Linked DNA regions of Homo sapiens: all the other regions are linked to region 4. Evidence: promoter capture Hi-C in 16 types of primary human blood cells and fetal thymus (Javierre and others, 2016). All regions are on one chromosome and are shown on one strand. Each heading gives the region's core, a stretch centred on a gene start or on the middle of the fragment in contact. The rest is flanking DNA. Distances are from core to core; before and after follow the strand shown.

Region 1 (3,369 bases), core at 488-2,987, 480 kb before region 4:
GGACAGTGATATTTGAGGATTAAAATATGTGTAGAAACTTTCTGGGCCAAAAGGGGTAGAGTAATCATGGAAGAGAATAGTATTCTAGGCAGACAGCATAGGCTATGTGAGGGTACAGAGGTTTGGAAAAGAATGTTGAAACAGACAAAACAGAGCTCAGGGCAATTCTGTGGCAGAAACTGTGCGCAACCCTAGTAAAAACATTTGAGGTAAAAGTGTTATTAGTTGTGATTGTACAGAGTTGAGACAAGTCCAATTTTCTTCACTGATCATGCTTTTTCAGACTATTTTACGTATTTGTTAAATTAATCTCCTCATCTAGAATGCAATTTTCTCTCCTTTACGCAAATACTATCTTTCAAGGCAGAGTTCAAGAATATTCTTCAGTCAAAAGCCCTTCTTACCCATTTATAGTTCGCTGGACTCCCCTTCTTCTGACTCTTACAAGTGTGCTCTTCAATATAGTTCTTGAGGATGAGCTGGTCGATAGAATGAGCACAGTTTTACATGGGCTAATATCCTCTGGACTAGAAGGAGGTTTCTCAAACCAAGGCTAGCACAATGCTTAGGATGTTATAGGACTCATCACATGGGGGCATTCTCCAAACAGGAAGAGAGCCACATCCTCACATGGGCCGCCAAAAAGTTAAAGTACCTACTTAGTCGCCACGGGCACTCTTTGGAGCTGATATATCAACCTCACCATCTTGGGAAAAGAAAGAAACAAAAGGAAGGAAGGAAGGAAGGAAAGAAGGAGGGAGGGAGGGAAGGAAGGAGGGAGGGAGGGAGGGAGATAAGGAGGGAAAGGGGAGGGGGAGGGGGAGGGGGAAGGGGAGGGGGAGGGGGAAGGGGAGGGGGAAGGGGAGGGGGAAGGGGAGGGGGAAGGGGAGGGGGAAGGGAAGGGGGAAGGGGAGGGGAGGGGAAGAGGGAGGGAAGGGAATGAATGTGGTTCCCCCATTTCCGTGAAATGTTACACAAAAGAGATGACTCCAAAATTTTAATAATATTAGAAATTCACATTTTAAAAATATTTTAGTTTAACTCTGTGAATTTCAGCTAAGAATTCTAAAGCAAACCATAAATGAAAACGGAATCTAAGAATGGATTTGAACCCTGTGCTACAGTGTGCCTATATTTTGGTGATCACAAACTGACTGTGAGAAGGCAGGCAAACATGAGACCGCTTTAAAGGTATCTAAATTCAAGAAAGCAAAAGTGTAACAGAAACCATAATAGTACTTTGGCAACAACTAGTGCTCTGAAGCTTGGGATTCTCTAGCTAATATCATTCATTTGTTTTCAAAACAGAAATGGTCTGAGCCTTCATTTAGTTGATTTATTAGTTTCCTATGGTTGCTGCAACAAATTATCACAAATTTGGCCCTTAAAACAATACTAATGTATTATCTTACAGACAGCTCTGGAGGTCAGAACTTCAAAATGGGGTTTTTTTTTGTTTTTTGTTTTTTGAGGCGGAGTCTTGCTGTGTCTCCCAGGCTGGAGTGCAGTGGCGCAATCTCGGCTCACTGCAAGCTCCGCCCCCCGGGTTCACGCCGTTCCCCCGCCTCAGCCTCCGGAGTGGCTGGGACCACAGGCGCCCGCCGCCTCCAAATCGGTTTTAATGGGCTAAAATCAAGATGTTGATGGGCCTGTGTTCCTTCTGGAAGTTCTAGAGGAACATTCACTTCCTTGCTTTTTCCAGCAATTGGCTGCCTACATTCCTTGGTCTGTGACCCCTTCCTCCACCTTCCAGCCAGCAGCGTAGCATCTTCCAATCCCTCTCTTTGACTGACAGCTGCCTCCACCATCACATCTCCTTCTCTCCCCGTGCTTCCAAAGTCACAGTATCATCTCTGATTCTGACCCTCCTGTGTCCGTCTTACACAAACCCTTGTAGTTATATTAGGCCCACCTAGAAAATCTTCGATAACCTCTCCTTTTCAAGACCCTTAACACTTCTTAATCACATCTGCAGAATCTTTTTTGTCACATAAGGTAGCATCACAGGTTCCAGGGATTAGGACATGGACATCTTTGGGGTGCCATTGCTCAGTCTACCACAGTTGGATAGGTGGATGGTATGGGAAGGAGTTTTGTCTATGAAAGATTCCATTCTTATTTTACTGGGGAATATAAAGTCTCCATTAAAAAATAAAAAGGAATGATTTGTGAAAAGTCCTGTAACAGTATTATTAACCCACAAAAGCTTTGTTGAACGGACAATAAGTTTCTGAGGAATCCAATAAAATGGGAACATACTGTACTCTAAAGGGATATTCATCTGCAGCTAGTCCTACAAATCTCTACTTTGTTTTTAATTTATAGAGATAGTTGAACTACTTCTCCCATATTTTTCTTATCCTCACCCTACCCTGTCCTGCCACTAAAAGGTTCTTTATGATGTGGTTTCATTGAGGAGGGCTGATGGGTCATATCATGGATTAATACAAAACATTTGGCATTGCAGTTATACTAAACGGTGAATTACCTTGAAAGTCTTCAAAATATGATTTTAGTTTCTCTCTATAATATACATAAACACATATATATACAAATGTATGTGAGTATATACATATATTTTGTATAATTTTTGATGGCACAAGCATCTAAATGTTGGTGTTTGCCAGGTTTTTTTATTCATTTTACAAGCCAAGTGCATGTATGAAGGCAGTACTATCAATGAATAGTCTGCCAACAAGAATCTCCAAGTCTCACAGCTCAAGTGTGCTGGCTTTCAAGACCATCTATTTCTTTGAGTCTTAGCATAATTAAATGCCAGGAGGAACAGCTTAGCTATAATATGGGAGTTAAATATGGCTTTGTCAATTTTTAGCTATTATCTCTATTCTGTGAAGATTTTTAAGGACTAAAATAATACATTTATAAATTTAAAAAAGAATGGATCTTGATTTTTAATTTATGCTTAAGATGAATCATTATGTGATCTGTTTTTCTGACCCAAAGTGTTTGAAAAAAGAATTAATGTGGATCTCAGGATATGCCAGTGCCATTTTGTGGAGGGCCGCATTAAATAATCATATGTTTTAAAGCATTTATAATTATCCCTATTTATAAATATATAAACAAGAAAATTCAGTATTAGAGCCAGTGGGAAAACATAATTCAAAATTCACTAACATTTATGACTCGTGGTCTGATCTCTAGAGTACACATTGAAGAGAAATCTTTGTCTTCTAAACTTTGAAAAAATATCTTTTTTTTCTCTCATCCCTTTGTTCTCTTTCCTTTTTCTTCCTCTTGTTGCCTTTTATATAATCATCAACCACACATATTAATTCAACAGATGTCTAAACCAGGAGTTTCCACTTTTTGTGGAATGGAATAATAAGGTAGAGGGGAACATTTTTG
Region 2 (3,156 bases), core at 605-3,104, 340 kb before region 4:
GAAGTCTGATGAACTGGACTTAGCCCTTCTCTCAGTTAGTTGAGTAAAACCATTCCAGTACATTTGCCCCCTTCTTGGGGCACAGATCCAGGGAAGGACAGAAACACAGAAGGAGACTGGCGCTCAGGGCCTCTTACTTTGCCAGAGGGCCTCGCCAGAGGAAAGCAGAGGCCCTGGGTTAGCATCTCAGTGCAGTCTCACGTGAGAAAGAGACAAGCCAGTCACTTGATGGCCTCGTGGCTTGTATGTGGGAGGGAGAGGATCCTGGCCCTTTACATGTTAGCCACACGGAAAGGAGAGTGCTGCTCTGCACACCGCTGTATACACAGATGGTTGTTCCAGCTACTGGAGAGTGAGCCACACAGTGCCCCATAGGACCTACTCCTCCTTTGGCGCTCCCATTCCCACCGCTCCCCTCTGTGCCTGCAGAGAGAAGCAGGGTTCACGGGCGGGAAGCATTTGTGTTTTCACCTCCATCCTCAGCCACTTTTTAAAAATCTTTGGAGATTTCAGTTCTCATTTTCTCAAGAATGGTAATTGAGCCAGTTAGGAATAAACGGAAGAGAGGAAACAAGGTAACTGGAAAAACTGAAGTCCCTAAACCATCTCCCTTTCTTTAGCAATTCTGCAAGTCCCTAAAAACAGAGGCTCAGAAAGACTGCAGTGAAATGTTGACACTTTGCAGCTGCCTGTGTCCCCAACAGGGATAAGATTTTTTAAGTAACTGAAAGGAGATGCTTATATCACAGAATCGGTTTCCTTTAACATTGCAAGATTGGGGCTTACATGTCTTTGACTCTGAGGGGAGGGGAGAAGTGGAAGCCTGCTGCTGTCATCCAGACTGTCTGGACTCTCCCCAGAAATGGGCATGCATTGGAGGACCTAACAGTTTATATCCCGAGCCCGGGAAAGCTTCAAGGGGATGAAAACAGGAGATAAAGGCAGGGTAGGGGCCCTAGCTGGGAAGTAGGGGGCCTGTATGTGTAGGTACTAATTTGATCCCTTGGTATTCAACCGACTGCTTTATATCTGACCTTTTGCTTTTTTCACAAACAATGAAACAAGCAAAAAACCTGCTCTAGTGCAAATTATTTCAAAGAAGGAAAGAAAACCTGGAGAAAGCAGGAATGACATATTTTTCTTAGACCTCTGGAAGAAAGGCCAAGAAGATAGATCTCTCTCAGAATCTGTGTCACTCCTCTTTGGTCACTGTCTCTAGTGCTGGCTTCCTGGTTGCCCTGCCATGCAGCGTAAGCTGCCAGGGAGCTACAGCTGTTGATGAAGTGCTAACAGAAAGCCTTGCATTGCTCAGAAAAGCGGTGGGCATTACCTTCACTGCTGCAAGAACCCACAGGCTCACCCTGTGAGCTCACCAGGAAGAAAAGTAACTCCCAGAATGTCGGTGCCTTTCTTCATTTGGAAGATGCTCAACCAAGGATAGCCAAAGGGCACTATAGCTTAGGCTCCAGGTCTCCTTTATGAGGAAAAGTAGGTTTTATTATAAAAGTGGAAGTATAGAATCCACACCAAGAGCTGACTGTTAGTGGCGGCTTGAGGATAGGGATGTGCTTCACTGTTTATTTGGTTGGCGACTTATCTTCTACCCCACCTGTCTTTCTCTACAGTCATGTCTGGGGAATATGACATGTACATTTTTTAGATAATGAGTAAGTATATGGTAAAACAACTTTGTTTTATATTTTAAAAAATGTTTAATACTTATACATTTTCTGAGCCTATGTCAAAAACAACTTATCAGAATAGAATATATTTTCTCAAAGGCTAATGTAAGGTCATGTGGATTCTTTTTCCTTGAGCAGGGCACAGCTCCCACCCACCCAGCCCACCATTGCCCAGTCTGTGTCGAGGAGCTCCCTTTGTCCTCACCTGTAAAGCAGCAGCCTTTAAGAGTGCCCACCATGTGGAAAGCACTTGATACACTTTGTTTTCCAGTCCTCAGCACTAGCCCACAGGTAACTAGTTCTGTCTTACTTTACAGATGAGTAAACAGGCACAGGGAAGCTAAGTAACTGGTCCAGGCTCACAGCACCAATAAATGGCAGAACCAAGATTCCAGTCCAGGTGGATATGGCTCAGGGACCTGTACAGTCTTAACACTGTACTCACTGCACTACGCTCTTCTTGGCTGCATAAGGAGCTTGAGTAGTTTCACAAATTACTTTAGAATAATATAAATACAATTATTTTACCACACTGTGATATAAAGACATTATGAGAAGCCCTTTCACTCTCAGCATGACACCCCCAGAAATGCCGTTTACCACCCTGCTCAGGCCTGCACTATATCACAAAACAGGCACCCCACAAATTGACTACCCAAAGTAGTCTGTGCCAAAGGCTCATCAAGCTGGATTTCTCGTTGGAAACATTTCAAGTTGTATTGATGAGATATCGTTTGTACCAAACTTGACTTCGTGGTGAATTATGATTTAAAGAGCTTCTAAAATTCAGTTTATCCATAAGGTTAACACCAACAACAAATATATATATGCAAAAATATATAGAGATGCAAAACTTTCATTTTATTAGCCCTTTTATTCCTGTAATGCCTGTAGTCCTACTGTCCTATTGAATAGACAGATAATTCAGATAGAGATTTTTATGTGTGGCTTTTAAAATTGTTATTATTTTAAGATGTTGCTATGTCATTGAAAGTGAGTTTTGTTATTAGCTAAATCATAAGATGCTTCTAATATTTCTTTGTTCTTACTATAAATCCTCTATTAGTAATGCATAAAAGCATGCAACTCCAAATGTATACTAAAACAAAGCTTTGTTCATGTTCACTCCCTCAGGGCAGAATTTGGGTTTTCCTGCTTTGGGGTCCCGTAGGGCTTTGTCCATACCTCTGTCTGCCTGTTGTATTTAAGAGCCAGTTTATATAGGTCTGTTCTCTCGCCTAGTCTGTGAGCTGTTCCAGGGCAGAGACCATCTTACACACTTCTGAATGTCAGCCACTTAGCCTAGTACCAGATATGGGATGGAATCAGAGTCATTTTTGGTGGAACTCATTTTAATCTATCAGCTTCAGCAATTCACTGTCCAACAGTGCTGTTTGTAGACCCCCCAAAAAGTGGGGAAAAAAAAACACACAGAAGAAAAGACAGATGTGGGGACAAGCTGCAGCAACCTGCA
Region 3 (3,078 bases), core at 579-3,078, 390 kb after region 4:
TAATTGTGTAGGAATTGGTATGCAGCGTAATGATTAGTATGTAATAAACTGAGGATTATAGAAAGAATTTTGCTATTAAACCACTTTCATTATTAATAAACTGCTTGTAAATACCTCTCTTCCATAAAAACACTTTGGCTGCTTGTAAAAGTGAGTTTGCCCTTTCCAGATTTTTCTAATGAAATGAGTCTATTAATAGGGACAGTTTTAAAAATTCCTGACTTTTTGTTTTCAAAGGACTTTTGTTACTTTAGATTTACTATTCCCTCTACCCAATAACTATGAAAGTAACCCATTAAAAATTCCAAATCTTATTCTAAGTAGATTATTAAAAATCATTAACAAGTATTTTGTTGCCATTTCACTGTAACTTCCAAAAGTAATGATTTTCTTTTAATGTGTATGGTAGTATATTGGATACAGTATTGTAAAAATTATTAAATCTAAGAAATTAAAAACCCATTGCATTATTCCTGAGAACCTGAGAACTAGTCATTTTTTTTTCATATTGGACATTTAGCCTAAGCAATTAAGTATTAATGCCTGTTGCCTTTTGAGTGTTTGCATTTTGCTAAGTGTTTGTTGAAAAAATTGCTAAGTGTTTGGGTGATAATAGCAAATATGAGAAATAATGACCTCAAAGACTTTATACTCTATGGCTTAGGGTCTTGATAACCTACTCACTTAGATATATTGACACATTTCAACTTCATGTCTTACATTCATTGCTACATAGGCATGTTTATATGTTTTATATGTGTATATATTTATATACACATATATATACACATTAGTGTTCCTTGTTAAAAAGCTTAGCTTAAAATTATTAACAGACTCTCATCACATAAATATCTCTTGTTTATTAGAAGCATTAACAGTCTTTAAGAGGTAAATTTTGTCAGTCTTCAGATTATATGCTTTTTCTTTTAATATCCAAAGTTTTAACATAGAATCATAATGGTGATAGGGTTAATGTCAAAGTAATTTTTATCACAAGTAGACTGTTTTTTTAAAATAAAGCTAAATGTAAATCCTTCTTCATAAAATGGCAAATACTTGAGAGCATGACTATTTGTATTTTTGAGTCTCAAAACTTTTTTTTTTTGTAGTCTTGCTGACTGAGATTTTAACAAACAGTTCTTTCATTGGCCTGCAGTGAACACAGCCAAAGACTCAACATTTTTGTTTCATACATATCCTGTAAAATTTCTTTTTTAAAGTTTCTATGCCAAATGTTTATGAGGACTAGAGGCTAAAATAAAAAAAGTCTGTGAGTGATACTCTTCTAGAATTTATTATTTTTGTTTTGCCACCTACTCTTCCTCTTTATAATTTTTGTAGAAACTTTAAAATGAACTTTATAGATTATTATAGAAGTGTAGTTTGTGGGACTCTGTTATACTCTACACATGAGAGTTAGGTATCCTTTTTTGGTGTTCTTTTCTTGAGCACTCATAATACCTTTGGTGTGCTTCCATCCAAAATACCTCTTAACCTGCACTGTGGTTACTAATTTTCTTGTCTATCTTCCCCACTAGACTTTGAACTTCTTAAAGATCTACGTCTAATTAACTTCTGTATCCCCATGACCTAACACTGCCTTGGCCCATAATAAATGTTTATTGAATGCATGGAAATTATTTATTTTCTATCATGTAAATAAAAAATGATGATTCATTTATTTAGCAAACTATCAATGAGTATATACTGTTTCAGGTACTGTACTGGTCACTGGGAATAATAAGAAATTAATTATGACATTTCCTGTGGGATTTCTGAACAAATAATTAAAACCTAGTTAATTCATTGAACAGTGATTTATTGCTTCCCTACTGCGTGCTAGGTATTGCTCTAGGTGCCAGGTAAATGGTTATTGGTGCATAAGGACATCAGAGACATCTTTCTACTTAGAGAAGGTTTCATTTGAGCTGAGTTTTGAAAAGTAAGTATTTCTTTAGGTGATATTTCAAGGAAAGAAAACGGCATTTGCAGAGGAATGAAGGCATGGAAAGTGGCCATCAAGTACCAGTTTGCCTATGCTGCAGCCATTTTAGTGGGAGCACATGGGCAGCTTTCTAATGATGGTATCTAACACGTGCACTAGGTTTTCCATATATTTTAGAGAAAGTTAATTTGATGAAAACATTTCAGTGAAATTTCAATTTACCAGCACTTGAAAGGGCTGAGAAATGAATAAATGGGAAAGTGGGTGAACATTACAGATGTAGGCATTTATTTCATGCCTTAGCATTAAAATATTACAAGCAGGTTTTATTTATATGTGAATTCCAAGATTGTTTTAAATTATTTTACATCCTTGCTTGGCTAGTAATGACTGCCTATTAGCATTACAAAGTTCAGTTAATGAAAGCATAATTATTTTCTTAAAAACTTTTTTTCCAAGCTGGGCATGGTGGCTCACTCCTGTAATCCCAGCACTTTGGGAGGCTGAGGTGGGTAGATCACCTGAGGTCAGGAGTTCAAGACCAGCCTGGCCAAAATGGCAAAACCCCATCTCTACTAAAAATACGAAAATTAGCCAGACATGGTGGCATGCACCTGTAATCCCAGCTACTTGGGAGGCTGTGGCAGGAGAATCGCTTGAACCCAGGAGGCAGAGGTTGCACTGAGCAAAGATCGTGCCACAGCTCTCCAGCCTGGGTGACACAGCAAGACACCGTCTCAAAAAAAAAAAAAATCCAATAACCTTTCTAGATATTTCAAATTTTTTTCTTTTCAGATATTGAACAGTCAAAAAGGGCATGGAGGGCCTTCATCTTGGCTGTGTTCTTGTCCTAAAACATTGTATCTGTTAAGATTTTGTTTTGCTTTTCCTAGAAGCTTAGTCTAGATGGGATGAATCTTAATAAAGATCTAGCAAAATATGTATAGATAGGATTATCTACCCATATGAATTTGCTGAAATTACCACCTTACTGATTCAAAAGAACATATTTTTCAGATATATTTCTATTTTTTGTAGTAACTGAGAATTTATATATGGTTTTATTATAAAATCCTATGTAGGTGATAAAAGTGAAAAGAACAATAGCAACCATGTCTAACTAATACTTCTTA
Region 4 (2,905 bases), core at 89-2,588:
AAATCTGCGAGGCTTGGTAAGTTATTTATATTTGGAGTCGGGGTAAGAGGAAGAGACAAGGATGGTTCTCAGAGGTGTAATTTGGGGAATGAATAGGTGGTGACACTGCCAATTACAGAGACAGTACAAGAGTGGGGGGTAGGGGATGGGTGTGACTTCAGTTTTTAACATGCTTGGTGACAAGAAAATTCAAGTGAAAATATCTAGAAGCCTGAAATATGAGCCTAAGGTAGGGGCTTGGGATGGATTTCAATGTCAGACATTTTTCAGTAATAGTTAAAAACCGAAGAGCCCATGTGTATTCAACAGGCACTTGCGGGCACAGTGTGAAACAAAACACAAGGTCCTTGCCCTCGTGGAGCTCACAGTCGCCTAGGGAAGACATATATTAAGCAAACTATACGGGAGGCCCTGAATATTTACGAAGTGCAGCATGTCAGGAGAGCCAGGAGCTGTGCAAACAAACCATCAAGAACAAATCGGACACGGTGCCTGTTACAGCTGTGTGACCTGGAGCCGGTTAGGTTAGAATCCTGGAATCACCACTGCTTTGCATGGGGGTCCAGGACAGCAAGGCAGATTTGGAGTTTCCAACTAGCCTGTAAACGGGGAAGGAGAGAGCGCTTAGTACGCGAGAAAAAGAAACAGCCAACGAGTGAGAATCACTGGCCCAGCTGGAGAACGACCTGAGTTTCCTTTGTGTGCACCGGGACCAAGCACTGGGGGCCGACAATTTGCTGAGAGCTGGCTCCACCTGCCTGGGGTGCAACCACGAGAAGAGTGACAGCCCTCTCGCAGGGTACAATCTTCCACCCCCAGATGCATCTCCCTCGTCTGGTTGTGGGGAGGTACAGAGTGAAAGTTAAAGGCCTGAATTAACGTCCGGCTCTTGTGGGCGCCAGCACTCTGGAAGCGAAATGCCAGGAGTACCCCACGGTGGGCGGCGCGGGCGCAGACACCCGCACACCCAGTTGGGGGAAAACAGTGAGCAACCGGGTAGGAAGCCGAGGGTAAGAAGATTCAGAAGGCGAGGCCCCACGCGGGAAGACAGTCGAACACAGCGTTTGGCAACAGTACGCCTGCGCTCTCCGAGCCCGCCGCGGCGGAGCCCAGGAGGGAAGCGCGAGCCCGCAAGGTGAGGGCGGGGGAGGGCACGCCGGAGAGGCGGCCAAACACGTGAGAGCGCGGAGAACGTGCGCACGCGCAGGGCGCCCCCGGCCCGCGCGGCGGCAGCGCGGGAGCAGGGACGCAAGGCATTAAAAGGAGCCGCGCCTTGGTGAGCGCTCCCCCTCCCCTTTCTCCCGGGGTGCACTGCGCGCGCCCGGTGGGCGGGGGGGAGGGGAGGGCAGGCGGCGGTGGCAGCCATGTTGTTGTGAGTCTCTGTGTCTCACCCTCGGTACTTCGGTGGTTCGGAGGAGGAGGGGGAGGAGAAGGAGGAGGTGGGGTGGGGGGGGAGGGTGGTAGGTGGAGAAAGAAGACATTGCCGCCACCGAAGGCGGAGGAGGGGGAGGACCGCCAAGAGCGACGCCGCCGTGTGCCCAACGGTCGGTGTCCCCGGCTGAGGCAGCGCGGCCGCAGCAGCCCTGTAAGTCAGTCCGCGTTCGCTCTTTCTCCGGTCCTTTGGCGCCGTCGAGGATGGCTCCCCAGGCTTTGTGCGGCGGCCTCGGCGGGAGCCGATCGCCAGCGGGAGGGCGGATAGGGCCTGCTGAGTGCCCGGGCCGGTGCGGCCTGGGGCCCGCTCGCACAATGCAGGGGGAGGGGTGCCGGAAGGGGGTGTGCGCGTGCGGGGGAGGGGGCGCCGCGCCGGCCGCTTTCCCGCTTCCTTCCCTCTGCGGGGCCGCCGCCTCGGGGGCGTGGGGCGCCGACCCGGTTCTCCCTCCGATTCGGCGCGCTGGAGGTTAGAGACCGAGCTGTCGGCCCTAGGGTTCGGAAAGAGGGGAGAGGCCGGGTGGCCCCAGAGAAGCATGCGGATTGCAAGTGGGTGAAGAGGAAGGAGTGGGTTTATGAAAACAAGTGTGGGCATTTTCAAAGGCCCGAGTGTGTCCGGGAAAAGCTTGCCGTGGACAGATGTGGGTATGAAGCAGTGACTTGGATTCGCCTTGTTTAGGTTATAGGAACGGATTTCGATATTCAGAAAAATATGTAAATTAAAACCAAAGACAAGATTAGCGGCTTCTACTATTTGAGCAGTAGTTTTGTATCTGAATTGGGTCAGGTTTTGGGGAAAATGTTTAAAGTTTCATGCCCAAACACGTGTAAAAGTTAGTGTTGTTTCTGAAAACACAGCCAGAGAAAACCTACTTAACTTAGCTTTTTATTCTAACATACGTAAACTTTTGAAGAGAGGAATGTATTGCCAGCATATTAGGTGCAATAAGACATCATGTTAGGACTTAGTACTTTGAGATTTTTACTTGTTGAGAAAACGGGGCAGATGTTTTGGTGAAGGAAAACATGAGAAAAATGCTTGTAAACGGTGAAGAGAAATGTAATACCTGTAAAGGTACTGTATGTCAAGAAAACAATTTTAATAAAGGGAGTTACCGAAGGATTTTAAAAGCTTGTTTAATGGTTAGATTTCGTGTTTAACAGGTGACTCTTCACCATGTGACCTGGAGTATTGGAAGATGACTTAAGGAATCCTGTAAATAAAAAAAAAAAAACAAAAATGAGTATTTTCAACTTGTTTCTCTTCCTAGCCTCCTTTTAAACAATGATTTACTTCATTTGCTCAATCATTATGAATAAAAATGATGGCATTTTCCGTGCTGCAAGAATTTCTTTAAAATTCCGATTTTTGGTGAAATTGCATTGTGTAGAATTTTCTTGGTGTGCATGAGGGCAGTTTTTGTATGCAGAAAAGGTTTACGATAATCTTAAAAATAAAATTTTATTTCAGAAACCT
Region 5 (2,954 bases), core at 344-2,843, 460 kb before region 4:
TAGAGTGGAGGCATGATGCAAAAGGTTAAAAAATTGTTTAGAAAAATCACAGCATGCATTATATCTCATTTATCCATATAAGTGAAATTATATATATGCATATAAGTAGAATTTTAAAAATAAAGAACATGAGCTCTGGAATCTTTCAGACATTTCTGGATTCAAATTCTGACTCTGCCACTTTACAACTTACTAGCTGTGTGACTTAGGCAAATTGCGTAATGTCTTTGAATCAATTTTCTCACATATTTTCTTGGGGTGGGAGGATGAAATAATAGTACCCATCTATAGGGTTGTCATCAGGATTAAATTTAGATAGCATCTGTTAAGTGCTTAGCACAGTACCTGGCTTACAGAAAGCACTCTCAGTTATTAGTTCTTACTGTTGCCTTGGTTCTTACGCTCTTGGACATTTGTTAATATCTATTTTTAAAACTTTATCACCATCCTGCCACTTTCTTGAAACACTCCTCACTGGCTTACATTACTTTACATGTCTTAGTTAATGCCTGTTTCTAATTGTTCCTTTTTATTTTGCTGATATCTTTTTTCCTTACCTATGGATATTGCTCCCAAAATATAGCAGGGGTTGCCAAAGAAGCTTTTGAATTAGGGTGACTGGGAGAATATTAGTCCATATATGGCAGCAGAGAAGTCATGATGTAGGGTTTATAGGGTTGATTTTTAAAACAAGATGATTTTGATACTTGCTCTGCAGAAGTTTTATGCATCAATGAGGCACCCAGATGAAAATGCTCAATAGCTGGAAAAACTTGACAGGAACTTGAGAAGTAGATATAAAGGATTCTCTCACTTGGCTAATTCTCGAAGTGGATGTAATCTCCAGGGGAGAGCATATAGAGAAGGGAATCCAGGGCAGAAACTTTGGGGACAGGGAATAGGAGAGGAAAAGGTTCCCATTGAGGACTGGGAGGTGGCATAGAAGCCAAAATAGAGAATTTCTTTAAGAAGCTGCTGGAGAAACTGTATGTCTACTTTGTTCTCTCTTGAGCTTTAGTTCTGTGGCTCACATTGTCTTCTGGCCTTGTTCCTTATTTTCTTGAAACTTAAACTACATTTGTAACTAATCCCAGCTTCCTTTCCTCCCACTAAATTCCCTTCTTTTACATTTCCCCCTATATGTATGTGAGGAGTGCTTTCATTCCCCTCATCTTTGGCATCAAAATCTGTCATCTCTGCCCCTTTCCCTTCCCTGGTTCTCCATATCATTACCAAGACTCTCATTCACTCCTTTTTCATTCCCACTCTTGCCTACATTTGATTGATTATTATCAAAATAATCTAAACAGGATATTTTGAAATAATCTAAACAAGATTATTTTGATAGCTGCCAAACTCTAGTGTAATCTTGTGTTTTTTCTGTCTTTCATAGTCCTCTTAAAAGAACTAGTTTAGGCCAGGTGAGGTGGCTCATACCTGTAATCCCAGCACTTTGGGAGGCCGAGAGGGGTGGATCACGAGGTCAGGAGATCGAGACCGTCCTGGCTAACACAGTGAAACCCCATCTCTACTAAAAATACAAAAAATTAGCCAGGCATGGTGGCAGGCGCCTGTCGTCCCAGCTACTCGGGAGGCTGAGGCAGGAGAATGGCGTGAACCCCGGGGGCAGAGCTTGCTTTGAGCCGAGATCGCGCCACTGCACTCCAGCCTGGGCGACAGAGCAAGACTCATCTCAAAAAACAAAAAAAAAAAACTAGTTTAATCCAGTTAATCCAGTCCCTCTGCCTTTTAAATCCACCAGATTATCTTTCCTCCAACATCTTCCCAAACTGTTCTGAGGAAGGAGATGAGGTATTAATGAGAGAGATTAGTAGGATCACCATTAATGAAATATAGTCAAATCAGTTTTTAGAAGGTTGAGTCCGGGCGCGGCCGCTCACGCCTGTAATCCCAGCACTTTGGGAGGCCGAGATGGGCGGATCACGAGGTCAGGAGATCGACACCATCCTGGCTAACACGGTGAAACCCCGTCTCTACTAAAAATACAAAAAAATTAGCCGGCCGTGGTGGCGGGCGCCTGTAGTCCCAGCTACTCGGGAGGCTGAGGCAGGAGAATGGCGTGAACCCGGGAGGTGGAGCTTGCAGTGAGCCGAGATCGCGCCACTGCAGTCCAGCCTGGGCGAGAGAGCGGGACTCCGTCTCAAAAAAAAAAAAAAAAGAAGGTCGAATACCTTTTTGGCACCAGGGACCCATTTTGTGGAAGTCAATTTTTCCACAAATGGTGGGGAGTGGGGAGTGATGGTTTTGGGATGAAACTGTTCCATCTCAGATCACTGGGCGTTAGTTTCTCATAGGGAGCATACAACCTAGATCCTTCGCATGCACAGTTCACAATAGGGTTTGCGTTCCTGTGAGAATTTAATGCCTCCACTGATCTAACATGAGGCGGAGCTCAGGCAGTAATGCTTGCTTGCCGCTTATCTCCTGCTATGTGGCCTGGTTCCTAACCAGTTCCAGACCATGGCCCAGGGATTGTGGACCCCTGTTGTATACTATGTCCCCCTCTAAAGCATTCTCAGTTCTTATCGGTGTGCTTTGAAAAAGTTCCTCAGAAGTAAAGCTTATGTGCCTTTGTGTTTAACTTAACTTTGCAGATTGTGTTTTCCAAAGATGGCCACAATAGTAACTCCCATACCACATGTTCTTTTTACAATATGACTTTGACACTTCTTCTACTGACCCCTCTCAGTAGAAATGTCACAGTCATATTGTACAAAGAACATGCTGTCTTTGAATATTGATGGGCTTCTGTCTAACATGGAAGTGATGCTATGTGACTTTTGAGGGTAGGTCATAAAAGGTGATACAACTTTAATCTGGTACTCTTGAGACATTTGCTCTTGGAACCAAGCCACCATTTTCTGAAGAAGCTTAAGTAGCCCATATTGGCAGGCCAAATGGAGAAGGCACATGCAGGTGTTCCAGGCCAACAG
Region 6 (3,056 bases), core at 405-2,904, 410 kb before region 4:
GGCTTTTGTTTAGTTCAGATAGAAGCTTCTTTCTAGGTCTGTTTGTGGAGATGAGAAGTATGATTGTGATCTTTAAGAAAGGAAAAAGCTCTCTAATATGGTTAACCAGCATGTATGAGGTTGTTTTACGCTCACTTCCAGCTTGTATGGAAAATCTGTGAACAATATGCAATGTAGGCCACAAAAAATTTCCTGAAATGGAAAAAGCCTAGCAGGCACTAAATGAAAGCTAGGCACTAAATGAAAGATGCTTCACAAGAATAAAATGTGGTTGCTTTGAGATCTCACATTCCAGGCCATTTCAGACTAATTGTATTTGTTTGGGAAGAAGCAAGATTGTCAGGTATCAGGAAGGTGTATTGATACATAAAAGATGGAAGCCAGCGTCATACTGCAAACCTCTCCCTAGGAAGCCAGACAGTAAATCATTTTCCAGGGTCAGTCATATAGAGACCAGAGGGAGCATGCATGAATGAAGACACAGTCTAGAAACTCCATTTCAACAAATAGTTTCTCCCCTCACCAGTACTGTTATGGGAGCTTCTGCAAAAAGCCAAATTGAGTGTTAGAGATTCAGCCTTTTCCCCTTTCATAATCTACTACCCTTAGGAAGATGCTGAGGAGCTTCTTATAACCTCTTACAAAGGAGAAAGTCTCTGAGAGCTTCAGTAATATTATATTAATGTCAATAGACATTTTTTCAGAAGAGATTTCATAAAAACTTAAGGACATATTCTGGTTATCTGGGTACCAGGAGGGTTCTCCTTAAGGCCCTTGTTTCCTTCCGTTCATAGTTGCTGTGTTTGCCTTACAGTCCCTGCACTTAGGGCTCCATCCTGACTTTATAATTTCTCATTGTCTAGATATATATTTTCCTATCTATGTGCCTTTGTTGAGCTACTTCCTTTCTGCTTTGTCCCACACCATCTAACTGATGCCTCCTGTTCTTCTGGAAAATCATCTCAAACATGAGCTCCTGTGTGAACTCTTTCCTGATTCTTCCCAGTCATTTTTACTCTGTCCTTCCTTTGGTAACACTTTTTCTCATAATTCTTCTATATTCTACCCTATATTATAGGCATTGCATATTTCTTTGATTTTTCCTGTTAGATGTTTCAGCTTTCCTTTTAACTAGAGCATAATCTGCATACAGTAACTCTTTTGTTTGTCTCCCTGCCTCGTTCTAGATATTTCTTCTGACTTAACATTCTACTTCACTAATCCTCACTTGAGCTATGTATAAACACCTTTAAACTCATCTGTTACATCCTCAATTTTAGTTATTCTATTTTTTGCCTATAAAATTTCCATTTTATTGTTATAATTACTAATTCCTGCAAATCTCCATCTTGTCATTTAATATCTTGATCATATTATAGTTATTTTAAACTCCCTATCTGACTTTATTCTCCTTTGTACCATCAACAATTTTTAAAATTATCATTACTTTTATAAAAGTTCAGAGATCATATATTTGACATGAAAATAAATAAAGATTGTGTCTGATAATTCCAACATCTAAGTCTCATGTGGTTGCATTCCTACTTCAGCTTTTTCCTTTGCTTTGGTTATATTATCTTGTCTATCCGTATGCTTGTGTATTAGTCCAGGTTTGCCAGAGAAACAACCAATGGGATGTATGCACATGGAAAGAGGTTTATTATAAGGAATTGGCTCACATGTTTATGGGGGTTGACAAATCCCAAGATCTGTAGTCAGCAAACTGCAGACCTAGGAAAGCCAATGATGTAATTGTAGTTTCAGTCCAAAGGTCTGAGAGCCAGAATTTCTGATGGTTTAATTCCAGTCCAAAGGCTGGCAGCCTCAGGACCCAGGAAGAGCTGATGTTTCATTTTGAGTCTGAAGACAGAAAAAAAAAAAAGTCCTAGCTTGAAGGTGGTCAGGCAGAAGGAATTCTCTTTTATTAAACCTTTTGGTTCTAGTCAGACCTTCAACTGATTGGATGAGGCTCACTCACATTAGGGAGGGCAATATGCTTTACTCAGTGTACCATTCAAATGTTAATCTCAGCCAGAAACACCCTCACACATCCAAATTGTTTGACCAAATATCTGGGCACCCTGTGGCCCAGTCAAGCTGACATGTAAAATTGACCATCACAGCTTGGCAAGTATTTTTTTTAACTGAATACCTGACATTATATGTGAAAAATTAGTAAAACAATATTAGAATCTTATCTTCCTCCAGGGAGGATTTACCTTTGTTTTTGCAATTATTCTTAGGGTAGGTCACTTTGATGCCATTGGGAATTGGGTTGAATCAAAGCTATCTTTGGAGGGGCTGGCCTATTTCCAGTTCATCGTTACTTCTAGGGTATAGTCCTTTAATAGTTTCCACTGAAAGCCTAGAGTGCCTTCTCTTTTATGGGCACACAATTCCCAGGTTTTTCCTTCAAGCTCACAAGATTTTTCAGAAACTCTCTTCAGCTTCTTGGCTTCTTAGCTACTGCTTGCAAATCAGCAAATAACAAAGAAAAGCTACTTCAGCACTCCTCTCTGAAGTTCCTTTTTCCCTAGCATTTTAGCCTTCAAATCTCCTCTGCCTCTGATGCCTTCAAGGGGACTTTAAAAAACTTTCCCAACTTTTCTAATTGTTCTTGGCAAGGAGATTGCTCTCCAACAAGATAGCCTGCCATCTTCACCTCCTATCAACACCATTAGCAGCTGGTGCTGAGCTTTAAGTTCTTCCAGCTCTGCTATTGAGAAGTATGTCATTTCAAGTTTTTAATTATTTTTGTGAACTGTTTTCTTCCTCTGGAAAGTTTTAGAATATTCACTTTATTGTCAGTATTATATTTTCTGATGATATTCCTTGGACTATTTATCCTTTTTAATCCAGAAACTGGCATACTTACACACTGAAAACTCTTGTATTTTTTTCTCTACTTGTTTTCTCATTATTTGTGTGTTATACTTTCAGAAAAGATTTTCTTGATTTATTTTCTTTTCCATTATCCATTTCTTTCAATTTTTAGTTTTTTGCAATGAGAAATAGGGGATATTTTCCCTACTTTATCTTCCAATTCATCTAATTAA
Region 7 (3,381 bases), core at 439-2,938, 460 kb after region 4:
TTCTCTTGACTCATATTCTCTTTACTCTTGACTGGGATCAGATGGAATATGAAAAGGAAAAATTGTTTAACATTTTCATGTGGTTTGTTAGATTATATTCAAAATTTCTTCATCCTTTATCAGAAAAAAAAAAAAAAAAGTCACTTAAGTTCAGAATCAGCAGTTGCTGATTGTAGACCCAGGCACTCATTTTCTCTTGTCTTGTTACTGGAAATAAAGAATAATTCATTTACCTTGTTTAGCGTTGAAACTTTAGGCATTATTCAGATTCTAAGTTTCTGATTGACCAAATAATACCTTGGATATTTACCTTAAAATATATTCATTACCGTTCATATTTCCCACATTTCAGTATTCGTTATTTCCTTTTTCTACTAGAAAAGTAACTTATGTTTTCTAATTTTTTCCTTTGTAAAAACAAAAGAATTGTGGTTTGTTATAAGGTTTCTCTTTCACAAAGTGAGGTAAGATAGGATAAAATGGATTTAAGTTACTTTTGAGTTTAGAATATTACTCCTAACAGTAGTTGAAAAGTGTGGAGCTATTTGTTTTTTTCTGAAATTTGGAACTGAATAAAACCCTTTACTTTATGATAGCAAAGCAAATATCCAAGTTAGTCTTTAGTCATTATCTATTTGCTCTTTTGCTCTGTCATTTGCTCTTTTGCTCTGTCTTTTTTGGTTTTCTGTTTTTCACTGGCTTCTCTACCCTCTGAATCCTAAATGTAGCCTTGGCTCCCTGTCATTTTGTAGGTCTTAAATCTTTCTCCGTGGGCATGATATATTTCAACCCCACCTACCACTCAGCGTTTACACTGATTCTTGTCTCAATGTCTCCCTTTCTGCTAAGTCTAGCCCCCTTAAAAATTTAACTCAGAAGTAAACAGTTTGTATATAAACCGTAATAGCATGTTTTTTTTTTTTCTTTTTTGAGACAGGGTCTCACTCTGTTGCCCAGGCTGGATTGCAGTAGCTTGATGACAGCTCACTGCAGCCTTGACCTCCCTGGGCTCAGGTGATCCTCCCACCTCAGCCTCCTAAGTAGCTTGGACTATAGGCATGCGCCATCATGCCCAGCTAATTTTTGTATATTTTGTAGAGATAGGGTTTCACCACATTGTCTAGGCTGAGCATGAATGTTTACTGTGCTAGTTTTTTGTTTTATTGAGAATAATTCATATATCATATAGTTTACCCATTTAAAGTGTACAGTTCAATGGTTTGAAGGTATATTCAGAGTTGCTGCACCATTTTTTCAAGGTTTTTGGGTATACTGGTCTTGCATGCAAACTGCACTTAAAGTTACAACACAGAAAAAATTTTATGCAAATTAATGACTAAACATGAGAGTGTTTCAAAAACAACAGCTCATGCACAAAACAGATCTAAGAGTCCTAAAAAGTGCTGCTTCTGGCTTCATTCAAATATGTGGCACGATTCCACTTTGTCTCATGTGATGCTCTCTAACTAGAAATGTGTTGAGTAAATCAGACGGCTCATCTCTGCCTGAAATGGATGCTGAATTTAGTGTGTTTAGGTTAACATATTGCTACGCTAAACAAATTGTTGACAAATGTGTAATAGCTTTTCAAGAGCATAGTGAAAAGTTGACTGAATATTTGCTATTTACGCTAGGTGTGTAATTTTAACAATTTCTATATAAATTCACATTTTGGTGTTTTCTGTGTTTCTAAAAAATGTGACAGTAAATTGTGAGAACAGAATGCCCATAATTTAAAATGGCAGTTGGTAAAAGAGGGAGAGTGAGATTTGTTAAATTTCAAATCTAATGTTAAGGGACTTCAAATGACACCATTTCACTCTACAGAAAGGAAAGAAGGATGAGTATAGTCTAATTTCTGTTTTTGAAAAAACAAAGCAATTGATACAATTAAAACACATAGTTTATCCTTTTTAAAATCACAAGAAGGTAAAAGAACACGTCATGTAGCAAGACAAATTATAAAACAAGCAACCTGTAAGGAAGCCCCGAAACTGAAATTATGAATGTGGATATAAAAGTAAAATAGGAACACAACAGTGTAATCCCAGGTTTATATGTGTCATCACAAAATCATAAATATAGCAGTTTAGTGAAGGTCTTATTCTGCATAGAGGATGAAGCTAAGAAATTGAGTAACTTGTGCAAGGTTGTGTCCAAAATCCATATAAATATTTGAAACTGCAATGAGTATCAATGTTTTTGCTGTTGGCATCAACTCACAGCAGATATGTGGACTTTTTTTTTTTTTTTTGGTCCTGATAAAAAATTTAAATTGCTCATAAAATGTTTTAGTACCCAGCAAAGTGAGTATCAGAATAATATTAAAGTATGTTTTTAAATAATGGAATGTTATTGCAATGCCCACATTGCTTGGTGGTCATTTTTCTTATTAAAAACAGACACAAAAGATGGTGAAAAGCAGATTAATTTTAAGAGCAAACTCCATTTGGAAACTAGATAGCTACAGCTGCCAATATGTAAATTTTTATCTTATGTCAAAAAAAGCATCCAATACGTAGAAATAAGGCAAAAGGATTTGCATGGCATTTCAATATCATACCAGCAGACCCACTCAACGACTGTTTAATTCTTTTGGGGAGCCATGTGTGTGCCTTTCTTTGATTTTCTATTTACTCTTGATTAGGGCCCAGACTCTGGGAGGTTGCATGTAACTTGCAGATTTTTGTCCAGAGGAGATGCAAATGAACTCTGGTAGAAAAGATAACCCCAAAAGTTTTGGCTGTATTGCCCTGAAGAACGTTAACCAGTTTTGTATTTAACCTAGCAACTTTATTCCCAAATTCTTTCTTCATGGACCATAAGTACTCAGTTATTCTAATGCTCTTTTACCACTCTGGCGGTTCTCTATTAATGAGTTAAACATTTTTCACATTTTCATTCTATATTCTTATAAGAATCGTGCTTAACTTCAAAAAACATTTTGGCCCTACTACTGAAGAAACAACAAAAAACCCTTGGTATGGTTTGGCTGTGTCCCCACCCAAAATCTCATCTTGAATTGTAATCCCCATAATCCCCACATGTCAAGGGAGAGACCAGGTGGAGGTAATTGAATCATGGAGCTGTTTCCCCGATGCTGTTCTCGTGATAGTGAGTGAATTCTCACGAGATCTGATGGTTTTTAAGGGTTTGGCAAGTTCCTCCTTCTGTCATTCTTCCTACTGCCTTGTGAGGAAGGTGCCTTGCTTCCCCTTTTGCCGTGATTGCAAGTTTCCTGTGGCCTTCCCACCCATGCTGAACTGTGAGTCAATTAAACCTGTTTCCTTTATAAATTACCCAGACTGGGGCAGTTCCTTATAGCAGTGTGAAAACAGACTGATACAACCCTTAAGTAGAATTTATTATTACATAGTCACA

The links. Contacts are between HindIII fragments. The CHiCAGO score rates a contact against its expected background, and 5 or more counts as called.
Region 1: a contact is called between a fragment that was not itself captured here and the fragment with the promoter of PUM2 in region 4, in 2 of 17 cell types (non-activated CD4 T cells and total B cells). The highest score is 5.9, in non-activated CD4 T cells.
Region 2: a fragment that was not itself captured here is called in contact with the fragment with the promoter of PUM2 in region 4 in 4 of 17 cell types (monocytes, total B cells, neutrophils and 1 more); the score reaches 6.0 in monocytes.
Region 3: a contact is called between a fragment that was not itself captured here and the fragment with the promoter of PUM2 in region 4, in 7 of 17 cell types (activated CD4 T cells, erythroblasts, M1 macrophages and 4 more). The highest score is 7.1, in activated CD4 T cells.
Region 5: a fragment that was not itself captured here is called in contact with the fragment with the promoter of PUM2 in region 4 in 2 of 17 cell types (total CD4 T cells and activated CD4 T cells); the score reaches 5.8 in total CD4 T cells.
Region 6: a contact is called between a fragment that was not itself captured here and the fragment with the promoter of PUM2 in region 4, in 1 of 17 cell types (total B cells). The highest score is 5.8, in total B cells.
Region 7: a fragment that was not itself captured here is called in contact with the fragment with the promoter of PUM2 in region 4 in 6 of 17 cell types (naive CD8 T cells, naive CD4 T cells, M0 macrophages and 3 more); the score reaches 7.2 in naive CD8 T cells.

The regions. Positions count from the first base shown.
Region 1 is chr2:20,832,137-20,835,505 of GRCh38, reverse strand. No RefSeq gene overlaps it. Among named protein-coding and RNA genes, the nearest start is that of LDAH, 11 kb to the right of the region's middle. The HindIII fragment of the contact is 942 bases long and covers 1,267-2,208 here.
Region 2 is chr2:20,691,957-20,695,112 of GRCh38, reverse strand. All of the region lies in intron 6 of LDAH (lipid droplet associated hydrolase), which reads left to right. Among named protein-coding and RNA genes, the nearest start is that of GDF7, 26 kb to the right of the region's middle. RefSeq lists a silencer at 1,113-1,297. The HindIII fragment of the contact is 1,880 bases long and covers 915-2,794 here.
Region 3 is chr2:19,957,177-19,960,254 of GRCh38, reverse strand. The region is part of intron 11 of WDR35 (WD repeat domain 35); the gene reads left to right. Among named protein-coding and RNA genes, the nearest start is that of WDR35, 31 kb to the left of the region's middle. The HindIII fragment of the contact is 2,030 bases long and covers 814-2,843 here.
Region 4 is chr2:20,349,277-20,352,181 of GRCh38, reverse strand. PUM2 (pumilio RNA binding family member 2) reads left to right here and starts at 1,338. Exons shown (of 21, transcript NM_015317.5): 1 at 1,338-1,585. RefSeq lists enhancers at 1-608, 816-905, 609-1,240, 1,241-1,870 and a silencer at 1,066-1,955. The HindIII fragment of the contact is 4,637 bases long and covers 1-2,055 here.
Region 5 is chr2:20,810,245-20,813,198 of GRCh38, reverse strand. The region is part of intron 1 of LDAH (lipid droplet associated hydrolase); the gene reads left to right. Among named protein-coding and RNA genes, the nearest start is that of LDAH, 11 kb to the left of the region's middle. The HindIII fragment of the contact is 1,980 bases long and covers 604-2,583 here.
Region 6 is chr2:20,756,616-20,759,671 of GRCh38, reverse strand. All of the region lies in intron 4 of LDAH (lipid droplet associated hydrolase), which reads left to right. Among named protein-coding and RNA genes, the nearest start is that of LDAH, 65 kb to the left of the region's middle. The HindIII fragment of the contact is 3,253 bases long and covers 28-3,056 here.
Region 7 is chr2:19,891,934-19,895,314 of GRCh38, reverse strand. No RefSeq gene overlaps it. Among named protein-coding and RNA genes, the nearest start is that of TTC32, 8.4 kb to the left of the region's middle. The HindIII fragment of the contact is 3,471 bases long and covers 1-3,381 here.